2 separate regions of the Homo sapiens genome follow, and region 2 is linked to region 1. The links are contacts of gene promoters, found by promoter capture Hi-C in human tissues and cell types (Jung and others, 2019). All regions are on one chromosome and are shown on one strand. The core of a region is centred on a gene start or on the middle of the fragment in contact, and the rest is flanking DNA. Distances in the headings are between cores, read along the strand shown. Region 1 holds the start of RDH14 (retinol dehydrogenase 14). Region 2 overlaps LOC105373459 (a long non-coding RNA gene).

Region 1 (6,651 bases), core at 698-3,197:
CCTCTTTTCCTCCTACCCTCTCCTGCTCTCTCTACCTCCACCTTCATCTCTACTCCACCTGTACATATGTATTCCACCCCTGGCTCTAGATGAGAGAAGACCACAGCTGAAACACATCTTCTGATGCTCCCTAATTTTATGTAAACCAGTCCAAAATATATCAGTTGTGACATGTGACACTGAGTACCTACCATTTTGTAGGTGTCCTCCCATGCAAAGACCACAAGAGGTACGCAGACACAATCCTATCCTCTAGGAAACTTGAAACCTTAACAATCTGGTCAAGGAAGTCAAATGTGCAAACTCAAACAGCCAATACTAGAAGGCTGTTTGTCTTCAGTGCCAGTGAGGGTCACACATGACCCTGAGGGTCACACATGAAGGGAGCAGAGATCTTTATAGGCTGGAAGTGGTCAGGAAAGAAAGACTTGAGGTAGCCTGTGATTTTGATGGATGGGCAAGATGTGGATGGGTAGAAAGGACAATAAAGTGGAAACATATGCTGGGGGATCAATGAGTTTGAGTAGCAGCTTCAAATTGGGGATAGGGTGGTGTAGGACCACCTCTCATGATTCCTGTTCCTGGTGCCTTGTATAATCCCCAGTAAGAGTGCTCTTTCCCACCTCTGAGCTCCATTCTCATTACTCATAAGAAACCTCCTGGAATCCATCCCTTTTTCTTTGTATTCTGACTATTAGTTGCATGTTACATCCTTCCCAAATGTAAGGGAGTGGAAGATGGATTATCACAATTATTGGGGAGTTTGTCTCAAACGACACAAGCTGTGGTTCTTTTTCCTTGTCTGGAGAACCTGCAATGGGTGGAGGGTGGGAAGTGGGAGATCACAGTTCCAGAAAGTAAGCACCCTGAGAGCAGAAATGGTGTCCCATTTCTCTGTGGCTCTAACAGGGAACAGGCAGGGCCAGGCACATATTGGATGGAGAGGCAGACGAACGAATGAGTCTTTAAAAGTAGCTTGGTCTACAGCTATGAAGTTTGTAGCTTGAAGAAGGGTCCCTGTGACACTAACCCTGATATTAATGAGGCATTTTACAGTGAGCCAAGCACTTTGCCTTCCATCGTTGTGTGTAATAGTCCTATGGAGAGGGCAGGGAGGCATTTGTAAATGGCCTGCTCAGAAGCCTATATTTACAATAAGTCCAAGCTTTTCCCACTGTACCTCTGCCAGTGTGAAGATCATTTGAAGATGGCTTTCTTTTTTTTAATAGGGACCAATGACATAATGTCTTGTTCAGTGGTTCTCAAAGTGTGGTTCCCAGATCTGCAGCAGCAGCAGCACCTGGAAACTTGTTAAAAGTGCAAATTATCAGGCCCCATCCTGTACCTATTGAATTAGAAACTCTAATACTGGGGCCCTGGTTTTTTGTTTTCGTTTTGTTTCATTCCCCCACCCCGAACCCCCACCCCAAGTCCTCCAGGTGATTCTGATGTGCATTTAAGTTTGAGAACTACTCGACCATTCTATTTCCAACTGATTCATGTTGCTTAATTCTTTGTCTCATCTATGAAAAACAGTCCTACCTCAGACTTCAGCTTGTCAGGGCCCATTCCTCAGAAGGTGAATTGAACTGAATTTACAAGTCCCAAGAGCCCTCAAAGGAAAACACACGAAATGCCCTGAGGAGTGGCATTTGTAACAGGGCCTGTACAGAGATCTGTGATTCAAAGTACTCATCAGACATTCCCATGGGGAAGTCCGCCACTACTCTGGGATTTCAATACGTATGAACCCCAGCACCCTGAACACTGTGCTGGTTGCCCAGCCTCCATCATTAGGCTGGGAGGAGCTTCCACGGAGGGCGCAGGACCCAGGGCGCTGAACTCTCACAACCAATCAGGCGACCCCCCCAGAGGGAAACTACAAGTCCCAGCATGCCCCACGCGCACCGTCAGGGGCCGACCCGCCGCGCCCCAGCGTTCTCCGCGTACAGGTGGTCTCTTGGGTTCCGGTAAGGCGGCGGCTGCGGAACTCCCGTGGAGGGGCCGGTGGGCCCTCGGGCCTGACGATGGCAGTGGCCACTGCGGCGGCAGTACTGGCCGCTCTGGGCGGGGCGCTGTGGCTGGCGGCCCGCCGGTTCGTGGGGCCCAGGGTCCAGCGGCTGCGCAGAGGCGGGGACCCCGGCCTCATGCACGGGAAGACTGTGCTGATCACCGGGGCGAACAGCGGCCTGGGCCGCGCCACGGCCGCCGAGCTACTGCGCCTGGGAGCGCGGGTGATCATGGGCTGCCGGGACCGCGCGCGCGCCGAGGAGGCGGCGGGTCAGCTCCGCCGCGAGCTCCGCCAGGCCGCGGAGTGCGGCCCAGAGCCTGGCGTCAGCGGGGTGGGCGAGCTCATAGTCCGGGAGCTGGACCTCGCCTCGCTGCGCTCGGTGCGCGCCTTCTGCCAGGAAATGCTCCAGGTGTGGGCCTCGGGGGGCCGGGCTGGTGGGGAGGGCCTGGGCACGGTGTGGGAGGGGACTGCGGGCTGGGGCTGAGCCGCGAGGGACCGCCCTGGGGTTCAGGGTGTCACCTTGGGAACCGCTGAGGCTGAGAGGAGTCCAAAAAGCCACTTTGAGGCGGCCGGGAAGCTGCAGGGTTGAGAGGGAAAGAGAAACTAACTGGGAGGGCTGCCTTCTGTCCTCTAAGGATGTCGAAAAAGAAATGGGCCCAAGAGAAAAATAAATAAACCAGTTTCTGAACGTTTCATTTCGTTACGTGAGGACCGCCCCGAAGTAGATCCATGGCCTCTGAATTGTTTTTCCTGTGTCAGAAGTGAATTTGCACCAAGCTGTGTCTTCAGAACCCCTGAGCACTGGGGGAAGTTGCTAGCTAAGGACCTCATATCAGTCCTTTAAAAAAAGTTCTCCTTCCCCCGGCCTCTGCCCCTTTTCTGCTGGGGTAAGGAGCTCGCTGCCACCAGTAAACTCAGCACCATCCTTAACGGGACTGTGGCCTGATTTCCAAGTAGAATACATTTTGGAACCCAGTGGTCATGCTCCATACAGAGACAGGAATAAAAATAACACCCAGCATTATTGAAGATCTGTATGCCAGGAGCTGTGCCAAGCATTTCAGATTTTCCTTTTTGTCTTAAATGAAAATGAAGTGTCCTTGCCTATAACTGTCATTGAAGCTACACAGTAACCCTGTGGAGTAGGCATTATTATCATCCCTGTTTTACAACGCGAGGAAACTGAGGCATAGGAAGGCTAAGAAACTTGCTTGTGGTCTGTCTCCAGAACACTTGCTTTTAACCCTTGTTCTTTCCTCCTGCTGCCTGGCAGTGAGGTGTGAGGATTTCTTTGTGCAAATGGTAAGTAATTCCACATAAGTGGATGTTCTCCGTTGAGATTGAGGTAGAAGAGTTTCTTGCAGGGATAACTGGCATTCAGAGGGCATTTGTTCAGAAGAGTGAAATTTAAAATTAGCTGGGACAAGAAAGGTGCCTATATGACGTAGAGTCTCTTGAGTCTAGAGAAGAGGTTCCCAAATTTTCTCAGTAATTTTTTCATGATGCCCTTAGGCCAGAAATATTTCCCAGTTCATTTATTTAGAAAGTTTATTTTGCCAAGGTTAAGGATGCACCCGTGGCAGAACCTCAGGCGGTCCTGAGGACATGTGCCCAAGGTGGTCGGGGCACAGCTTGGTTTTATACATTTTAGGGAGACATGAGACATCAATCACATATGTAAGGTATACATTGGTTCTCCTGGAAAAGTGGGACAACTCGAAGTGGGGGCTTCCAGGTCATAGGTAGATGGGAGACAAAAGGTTGCATTCTTTTGGGTCTTTGATTAGCCTTTTACTGAATACAATTTACATGTGCAGGAGGGATAGAGGAATAATCACTTATGTCTTAGACTGGCTCAGTGAGTCTGCATTTTCACATAAACAATACGGCAGAGTCAGCAATCAGATAAGCATTTATCTCAGGTGAGCAGAAGGATGACTTTAGAGTTCTGTCTTTTGTTTGGCACTTGTGAAGATGAGCTATCAATTTATGAATACATTGCCAGGGTGAAATTCAACAGAAGTGTTTTAGGGTAAAGATCTTGAGGCCCATGTGGGCAAATTATGAGGGTGATATGTAGCTTCTTTTTCTTTGTAGCTATCTTATTTAGGAATAAAATGGGAGGCAGGTTTGTCTGAGGCAGTTCCCAGCTTGACTTTAACCTTTGACTTAGTGATTTTGGGTTCTGAGATTTATTTTCCTTTGACACAACCTAATAAGTAGTTATGTCCTAACAACTTAGTAGCTATTTGAGAAGATAACATAATTGAAAGAAAAAAATAATATGTTTATTTTGTTCTTAAACAGCCATAACTACTAATGGGAAATGTATCTCTGTTGGTCATTACACCAGTGTCTGAAACCTTGGAATCAGATTGGACACTTCCACCCTCATTTCCTGTTCTAGGTAGATTTTTAGCATTGTTCTTGTTTTTTATTACAGCAACTGCTAACAGCTGCTTAAAAGTCAGCTCCACAAAGAAATAATGTCATTGAAAGGAATATAGCACAATGTAATGTTCAAGCTGTGAACCACCTGGAGCTAGTAGTTTTGAGGTATTGAGCAAATATCACTGTGTTTCCCTCGAAAATTTAAAATATTCCACAACACCCTGAGAGTTTGCTGCAATGCTGTAGGCCACAGTTCGGGAGCTGTTGCAGAACTAGAGAGTTGGTTTTTTGTTTATTGCTAGTATTTAATTATGTGTAACACAGGTTAAGAAATAATACTCATCAGTGAGATTTTGGAAGCATTAAAGATGGATCTTTCTGTTCCTCTTTAAAATATAGATGGGGCTGGGTTTGCTTCTTTGGCACTTGAGGCAGAACTAATTAAAAAGTGAGGACACAAAGAGATAATTAAGTTGTCCTTGCTTCTAAGTAAGTATTTCTGTTCCTGCCTGGCTCTGAAGTTAAGTGACTATAATTAGAAGGAAAAAAAAATGGAAATGTAGATTTCCCACAGGTTGGTATTCTTGGTATTTATTTCATTTATCTCGTAGAATTTAAAAAAATAGTAAATGACAAAATTTTAAAATAACACAAGCCCAGCAAAGAATGCTGGATAACAAATGATTAATTCAGGAAAATCTTCCAAAGGATTTGTGAAAAAGAATACTCCTTTCTTTCCCCCATGAGTGAACTCTTGCCTTCTTTTTGAAGTTGACTATTGGAAAACCCAAAGATGCTTAGACAGGGCAGAATGAGAAATAGTTAATCCTCTGACAGGTGGGCTTCGATAACAGTTGTGAAATGTAACACATTTTTCTTTTCACTTATAGTTGGCAGAAGGGCCAGTGAAATTTGAAAGTTGACCTCATATTAATCATGGGTCATCACAGTGTCTTTACACTTGGAACATGTGCATTTCTTTGTCCATCAAAAGAAACAGAACAACCGAGAAAAGGCTAGAGAAGACCATCTTACATGATTTAAGGAATAAAAAGACTTCCCTATGAGAACAGTCTAAATTTTAGGACTTTAATTTGGAAAGATACAGAAGCATAAGTTCAGAGTATAAAATGTTGACTGTACAGATCTCCTAGAGTCCCCTTTACGCTGGATATTTTTATATTACCTGATTATTTTTTTCTTAATCTTTGATTATTCTTTATGAATCTCGATTTATTCATGATGTTCTCTCCAGTGTTAAGTTTGCATTTCTGACCTTTTCTATTGCTTGTTTCACTTTTAAGGAAATGACTTGAAGTTGTTCCACCCCCATGGTGCCATTTACCCTGAGAGAACTACAGAATAAAGCAACCATAAGTTTGCCCTTGGTGTTGATAACCAGTAGCTCTGGGAATAAACTATGCTTACCTGTTTTCTACAGCATATGGTCTGTCTAGCTTTCATTGCCTCTCTAGCTGTTTTGAAAATCCCAATTAGAAAGCCATGCCAGCTTACTAATTAAGAAAATAGGCCTTGGTGTCAAAGACTTCATCTTCAGATCTGATCTTATTTTGCTACTTAGGAGTTCTGATACTGGGCAAGTCACCTAGCCTGTGAGCTTCATTTGCTTATACAGTTGTTGGAATTAGATGTGGTGACATGCGAAAAGCACAAAGCCTGGCTCCTATCAAGCTTCTGCATCTATTTTTTTTTCTATTTTTCTCTCAATTATTGGAAGCTCATAGAAGCATTTTGGGATAGAATTTTAGTAGTTTGCAAGTATTTTTAAACATTTTATCATAGGTACACTTATAATTTTGATATGATCTCAGTATTAACCTGATAACTCCCAAATTGATATTTTCCTAGTTCAACTGAAATTAAAGGGAGAAATATGGGATTGTAGGAGTGCCTTGTCCTCAAATTGACTGTATTTCTGTTTTGAGAAAGATCTTGGTACTGATCACGTAGTCAACTTTCTAATGCAATGTTAAAGTTTATATATTTGTAAATGTTATTGTTATAAAAGCATAAAACCAGAAATTAAGTCTTAGATTTAGTTTCTACATCTTTTATTGGAAGATGACTGTAGATAAATATCTTTCTGTATATCATTTTAATAAATGAGAAAAAAGAGCTGTTGAATGAAAGATCATGAACATCAGTATTTATCTGAGGAACATCCTGCGGAGGAATCCCTTTCCCCATTTATTAAACACAAAATTGCCAGTGTTTCAAGTAGTTCTCTG
Region 2 (7,393 bases), core at 2,760-5,259, 1.0 Mb before region 1:
TAAAAAAAAGTTTTCGCTTTTTTAAAAGGGAAAGACTACAACCGTTATGGAAAACAGTATGAAGGTTTCTAAAAAAATTAGCAATAGAACTACCTTATGATTAGGCAATCTTACTTCTGGCTGTATATCCAAAGGAAATGAGATCAGTATCTCAAAGAGATATCTGCACTCCCGTGTTTAATTGCAGCATTAACAAGTCCCAAAATATGGAAATGACGTAAGTGTTTGTCAACAGATGAATGAATAAAGAAAATGTGGTATATATGCAATGGTATATTTTTCAGCCATAAAAAAGAAAACAATCCTGCCTTTAGTAACAATATGGATGAACCTGGAGGACATTATGTTAAGTGAAATAAGCCAAACACAGGAAGACAAATACTGCACAATCTCACTTATATGAGGAACCTAAAAAAGCCAAACTCTTAGAAGCAGACAGTAGAATGGTGGTTACTGGGGCTGGGGAGCAGGATGAGATGCTGGTCAAAGGGCACAAACTTTCAGTTCTAAACTAAATGAATTCTGGGGATCTAATGTACATCATGCTGTGTATAGTTAATAATACTCTATTTTTTTTTACTTGAAATTTGCAAAAAGAACAGATCTGTTTTATAAACTTTTATTTTAGGTTCAGGGGTACATGTGCAGGTTTGTTATACAGGTAAATTGCTTGTCATAGGGGTTTGTTGTACAGATTATTTCATCCCACAAGTAATAAACATAGTACCCAATAGGTAGTTTCTCTATCCTCTCACTCCTCCCACCTTCCACCCTCAAGTAGGCCCTGGTGTCTCTTGTTCCTTCCTTCCTTCCTTCCTTCCCTCCCTCCCTCCCTCTCTCCCTCCCTCCCTCCCTCCCTCCCTCCCTCCTTCCTTCCTTCCTTTCCTCCCTCCCTCCCTCCTTCCTTCCCTCCTTCCTTCCTTCCTTCCTCCCTTCCTTCCTTCCTTCCCTCCCTCCCTCCCTCCCTCCCTCCTTCCTTCCTTCCTTTCTTTTTAATTTTTTTTGAGATGGAGTCTCACTCTGTCACCCAGGCTGGAGTGCAGTGGTGCAATATCGGCTCACTGCAAGCTCTGCCTCCTGGGTTCACGCCATTCTCCTGCCTCAGCCTCCCAACTAGCTGAGACTGCAGGTGCCCGCCACCACACCCGGCTAATTTTTTGTATTTTTAGTAGAGATGGGGTTTCACTATGTTGGCCAGACTGATCTTGAACTCCTGACCTTGTGATCCACCCGCCTCAGCCTCCCAAAATGCTGGGATTACAGGCATGAGCCATTGCACCTGGCCTTTCTTGTTCCTTTCTTTGGGTTCACATGTTCTCAATGTTTGGTTCCCACTTATAAATGAGAACATGTGGTATTTGGTTCTCTGTCCTGTGTTAGTTCACTTAAGATAATGGTGTCTAGCTCCATCCATATCCCTGCAAAGGACATGATCTCATTCCTTTTTATGGCTGTATAGTATTCTATGGTGTATATGTACTACATTTTCTTTATCCAATCTATCATTAATGGGCATTTAGGTTGATTCTATGTCTTTGCTACTGTGAATAGTGCTGCAATGAACATATTCATGCATGTGTCTTTATGGTAGAATGTATTTTTTTTTTGAGACGGAGTCTTAATCTGTTGCCCAGGCTAGAGTGCAGTGGTGCAGTCTTGGCTCACTGCAACCTCTGCCTCCTGGGTTCAACTGATCCTCCTGCCTCAGCCTCCCAAGTAGCTGGGACTATAGGCACACGCCACCATGCCCAGCTAATGTTTTTGTATTTTTAGTAGAGATAGGGTTTTGCCATGTTGGCCAGGCTATCTTGGACTCCTGGCCTCAGGTAATCCACCGGCTTTGGCCTCCCAAAGTGCTGGGATTACAGGCACGAGCCACCGCACTCATCCCTATGGTAGAATAATTTATATTCATTTTGGTGTATACCCAGTAATGAGATTGCTGGGTTGAATGGTAATTCTGTTTTAAGTCCTTTGAGAAATCACCACACTGCTTTCCACAATGGCTGAACTAATTTATATTCCCACCAGCAGTGTATAAATGTTCCTTTTCCTCTGAAACCTTACCAGCATCTGTTATTTTTTGACTTTTTAATCATAGCCATTCTTACTAGTATGTGATGATATCTCATTGTGGCTTTGATTTGCATTTTAAAAGAGCAGATCTTAAGTGTTCTTACCACACACGCACACAAAATGGTAACTCTGTGAGGTGATAGATACGTTAATCAGCTTGATTAGGACAGTTATTTTACAATATATGTGTATATCACATCATGTTGTACATCTTAAATATATACAGTTTTTGTCAATTATACCTCAATAGACCTGGAAAAAAGTAAAAGGGGCAATTGGCCATACCGGCTTCAGCTGTGAACAGAGGTACAGTGTTGGTGGTGAGAAAATTGTCCTGCCTTTTATGGGGCTTTTTCCTCTACTCCATTCACAGGGGCCTTCTGACAGTTATTTCATATTTCACACACTTTTCTGCCTTCAGGCCAGAAGATATACTCTTATGTCTCCATTCATTCATTTATAGATATGTATTGATATGTATTCAATACTCTTCTAGGACCTGATTGTATAATGGTAAACACAACCAATGTTGTTCCTGCTTTCATAGAGTTTTCATTTAAGTGGATAAGACAGACAAACAGATCAAAGGATGAAGAGAGGTTTCCAGGTATGTGTGTGTGTGTGTGTGTACGTGTGTGTGTGTGCAGATATAGAAGAAAATGATTCCCAGTACATGCAATGGAGTGGGAGTAGGCTCCAAAGCATAGATTGGATTAGGAGAGTAGTCCTTCTGGTGCCTGCTGCATTGCTGATTTCTAGCTCATGAGCGAACACTGGGATGTGAGTTCCACAGAGGCAGAGCACATGCTCGCCTCATTCATCCACCTTCTCAAGGTCTTTCACCAAGGAAAACACTGGTCACTGGGAGAAGAAACGAGGGCTGGCAGGCCCCCAAGGGGGCATCAGCCATCCACATTCATCATGAGAAAGATCAAGGCTGGAGATGGGTTGAGCAGATGCAAAGCCAAAGCTTCTGTGCTTTCCAGCAGAGTCTGCTGGAAACCTGGGAGGAGACAAGGCTGGGTGAGACCCATGGTAAGGCCCTTATGGGAGTTTGATCCGTTTGGCATTTTTACTTTATATATGAAAGTCATCTCTTTGCCAAGGCCACAGACCATGCTGTCTGCTTCTTTGAATCTCTTGATCAGCACAGAGCTGGGCATGCCAAGTGTACTCAGAGAGTTCTTGCCACATTATTTACCTTGCAAATTTGTACCTACTTCTTTGCCCTCTGATGGGAGGAAGGCACAGTGCATTGTCCCTTGATTTTACTGTAGGTCCACACTGGAAGAGTCTCCTTTCTGTTCTGATACAATCATATTCCAAGGCCCTATTCCAGTTTTTTCTGATCCATGAAGTTTCCTCTGATTAGAACAGCCCGTAGGTTCCTCTCCCCTCTCTAGGCTTTTGTTGTATTTAAAGCCCTCACACCTAACACCAGAATTCATCTCAGATTGCAGGACATGGATGAGTTCTGAATGCAGGCTCTCTTGGAGGATAACTGGGCTTCTCTCTTCTCTGTGGGCACAGCCTACAGGGGACTGGGCTAGCTGGCCAGCACCCATCCAGATAGACTCTTTGGGAAGGTACATCCAGGAAGGGTGGCTGACTTGGGGACCAAGATTGCATGTGCACCCCCTGGCTGCATAGCTCATTTCTACTGTCTGAATCACATCACATGAGCCTAATGTTTGTTTTGGAGAAGGTTGCAAAATTAATGGATGAAATAAATGCAGCAGATGCTACCTATTAGAGAAGAATTTTATGTAGCAGGCCATGAAAATTTTGTTTGCAAAATAAGATCTAATTAGCTTGGCTTGTGCTAGAATATAATGAATTAAAGTGACAGAGTAATTAATAACAATAGTTTGGGTCTCTTCCCCAGTTTTGCTTCCATTTGTGTTATTTGTTGAAATCGTTTTTGCCAAGGTCTCCTATTTGAAACCAACCCTGAGAGTTTTTCCTCAATGTTCACATGCCCCCATATGGGAGATGATTCTAGCAAAGCAATTTTTTTCCTATAGGCTCCATGATCTTTATTATTTTGGCTGCTGGAAAATCTTGGCTTTGATCCCTTCCTCGTTGGTCTGACAAGTGTTTTGAGGAGTCTCTTCTGTTTTGCCATCCATCCGTCATTCTGTCCATCCAGCAATGTTTTGCCATCCATCCATCATTCTGTCCATCCAGCAAACATCTATGAGCATTAGAGAATTCAAGTAAAAGATGGTGCTGTTGTTAGGGAGCTGATAACTTAGTGAGAAAGACAGAGAATAGTGTCTCAAGAGCTATAATACAGCTGTGTGCTGGGTATTATCAAGAACAGAGTGTGTGAATCAGCTTGGGGGCAGTGAAAATAGTTTCAGTAAGTTTTTTTCAGCTTTATTGAGGTATAATTGACAAATAAAAGTCTTACACTGCATATTCAGGGTATACAGCATAATACTTTGAGATATATATATATATATATATATACACACACACACACACACATATTGTGAAATGATCTCCACAATCAAGCTAATTAACATGTCTCTCATCTCATATAGCTACCATTTGTGTGTGTGTGTCTGTATGGTGAGAATACTTAAGATCTAGTTTCTTAGCAAATTTTAAGTAAAGAATACCTTATTAGCTATAGTCACCATGTTGTACATTAGGCATCCAGAACTTATTCATCTTATAACTAAAAGTTTATAACCTTTAACCAACATCTCCCCATTTTGCCCACCCTTTAACCCCCAGTAACCATTGTTCAACTCTCTGTTCCTATGAGTTTGACTTTTTAAGATGTTGCAGCAATAGTGCAGTATTTGTCTTTCTGTGTTTTATTTCACTTAGTATATCTTTTGTTTTATCCCTGTGGTCACAAATGACAGAATTTCCTTCTTTTTTTAAGTTGGAATATTATCCCATTGTGCACACACACCACACACACACACACACACACACACACACACACCACATCTCCTTTATCCATTTATCCATCAGTGGATACTTAGCTTATTTCCACAGTTTGGCTATTGAGTTTCACTGAGTTTTGAGGGAAAAACAGAAGTTATATTGAGTGGAAACTGCTGATGGATTTAAGAAGAGAATGACATGATTGGATCCTTAGCTTAGAAAGATTACTCTAGAAGCACTGTGGAAGACGGGTTGAAGGAGGACAGGGAGGAACCCAGAGGATAATATCATATCACATAATCCAGCAAGAAAAGCCTGGGGCCTGAGCTAAGACAGAGCCAGTGAATAAAGGATGGCAAGAGATATTAATACATAGACTTTAGAAGACTGGAGACTGATTGGGGCCCGGGGGTTGGTAACAGAGAGTGAGCTGGACGGGGTTATTAATAGAATGAGACTGGGTTTTCTGGATTTGTGCTTGGGTGGATGGTGACATGAGGAACACAGGAAAGAGGCAGTTTTGGGAACAGGAGAAAGGGGAAATATGAGAGCTAACATTTATTTAGCACTTACTGTTAAACAGGCATGTGTCTAAGCAGTTAATCTCACAATGGCTCTGTAAGCTAAATACAATTATCCCCATTTTACCAATGGAGAAACTAAGGCACAAATGAACAGGGTTTTAAAGTTAGTTAGTGGCAGCGCAGTTTGTTTCCTGGGCTAATCCCACCCTGCCTTAGAGATGATGGGTTCACATTGATCTTTGCAACATCCACAGGCCAGGCAGGCAGTTGCATTGTAGGTGTCTTCCTCAAAATGATAAACAAGGACACCTTTCAGTAGGGTCATTTGGGGCAATTAAAATGAGAAGCTGACAAAGTTCTCCTTAAAAGCTTCAGCCATACATGTTGGCTAGTTGCTTTCTATAACTTGATTTGTGAAGTGCTTCCTGCTGCTTTAGATGTCTGATGCCACTCAACTGGACACATACTTATTAAAGATCTACTATGTGCTTTGTGCTCTGCAGTGGGCTATATCACAATAATCAGAACAGATGTCATCTCTTCATCTGAGTTTACAGAGAGCATTTCTATCAAGGACTGGGTTTGGAAAAGAGCTGATATTGACTGTTCCTCCTTTGGCAACAGTACTAATCACCCTTTTGAAGCTTTGGCTCTCACTGTGAGATAAAGGTCTGTAGTTCCTGGAGGTAAATTAGGAGAGAGAGAAGAGGAGGTGATAATCAGGGGAGCTTTCCAAAGACCTCTAAAGTTTCATCAGCCCGGGATTCCTGATGATTTCCCATCTTCCCAGCCTATGATCTCACTGCTTCCCAAGCACTCACTGCTGTCGGTAGTTGTTGAAAATGTGCACAGCTTTCTGACTGTTCCTGATCCTCTCTTCCTTGGTTCAATCCCAAAACTTCCACGAAAAACCTGGCCTCATTAAACAAGACCTGTGGTGTTCAAACTCAAAGGAAAAGAAAATAGGATAGAAATCATGAAATACTTCCTGACAGCATGTGTCTCCAGGGGACTGGGGACTCTTAGCAAGGAGGGAGATCAAACACTGGAGGGAGGACTGGACAGAACAACCTAACTGTCAGGAGATAAATAAGGTGATCTCTTGGGTGCGTCCCGTCTCTTAGTTCTTATATTTCCTGAACTCTCAGGCCCTTCAGAGTTTGTTCAAGATGAGTAGCTGCTTCCGAGTAGGACAGATCGCTCATTCCAACTTTGGTTAGTTATACTGAAGGTCTGAATTTTCTCAGCAAGTGGGCTCAGGTCTGTCTTCTGGTCCCCCTGTGTGGTATAAACCCATAAGTGGTTTTCCTTTAAGGGAAGCCCCTGAGATTTTATCCCATAGAGCTCAGAGCTCCTTCCCATTTTCCTTGAAACCTCTCCTTTTTAACACACACAGAGGTTCTTTATCTCCTCTCCCCTGCCACAGTTGTGTGGGTGAAATTCCTCACAATTTAAGTCTTGCTTCTCATCCAGGTTAGTGTGGTCTGTAATTGCCTTTGGCTCTTCGTACTCAAGCCATAGTCTCTCCAGGATCAAAATTTGGAAATTTCATTACCCCTTGCTTTGGTGTCCTGAGCAAGTCCATGTTTTGGGACATGGCATGCCTTCCTAACCTTTCAACCAACAAGAGCATCAGTGTCGTTACACGATACCTCCAGGTTACAGTTTCTAATTTAGCACACTTCCTCTGTAGGGACTATCCAAGAGAAATATTTCTCGCGTGAAATTATTTTTGGAGACTTTCCAAATCAACAAGTCACTTCTCTACCCTCAAGGGGTTGGAGGGCTGTGGATTTGCCAAAGTTAATAATATTAATCTGTCCATCATATTAGAAATTCATTGTGTTTGAGAATAAAGGGAGCTATTCTTTCCGGGTCTGACCCTGAGTGGA

The links. The method cuts DNA at HindIII sites, captures the fragments that hold promoters and counts their contacts. A contact is called where the count stands out against the background at its distance.
Region 2: a contact is called between a fragment that was not itself captured here and the fragment with the promoter of RDH14 in region 1, in 1 of the 25 tissues and cell types used here (mesenchymal stem cells).

The regions. Positions count from the first base shown.
Region 1 is chr2:18,555,949-18,562,599 of GRCh38, reverse strand. It overlaps RDH14 (retinol dehydrogenase 14), which reads left to right and starts at 1,947. Exons shown (of 2, transcript NM_020905.4): 1 at 1,947-2,420. The coding sequence starts at 2,028. The region is part of intron 10 of NT5C1B-RDH14 (NT5C1B-RDH14 readthrough); the gene reads left to right. It overlaps LOC105373456 (a long non-coding RNA gene), which reads right to left and starts at 2,424. Exons shown (of 6, transcript XR_007086234.1): 1 at 1,909-2,424. RefSeq lists enhancers at 1,538-1,757, 1,768-1,817, 1,878-1,927, 2,738-2,787 and a silencer at 2,018-2,527. The HindIII fragment of the contact is 6,430 bases long and covers 138-6,567 here.
Region 2 is chr2:19,597,061-19,604,453 of GRCh38, reverse strand. It overlaps LOC105373459 (a long non-coding RNA gene), which reads left to right. Exons shown (of 4, transcript XR_939780.2): 2 at 2,573-2,683. Among named protein-coding and RNA genes, the nearest start is that of LINC01808, 130 kb to the right of the region's middle. The HindIII fragment of the contact is 6,100 bases long and covers 960-7,059 here.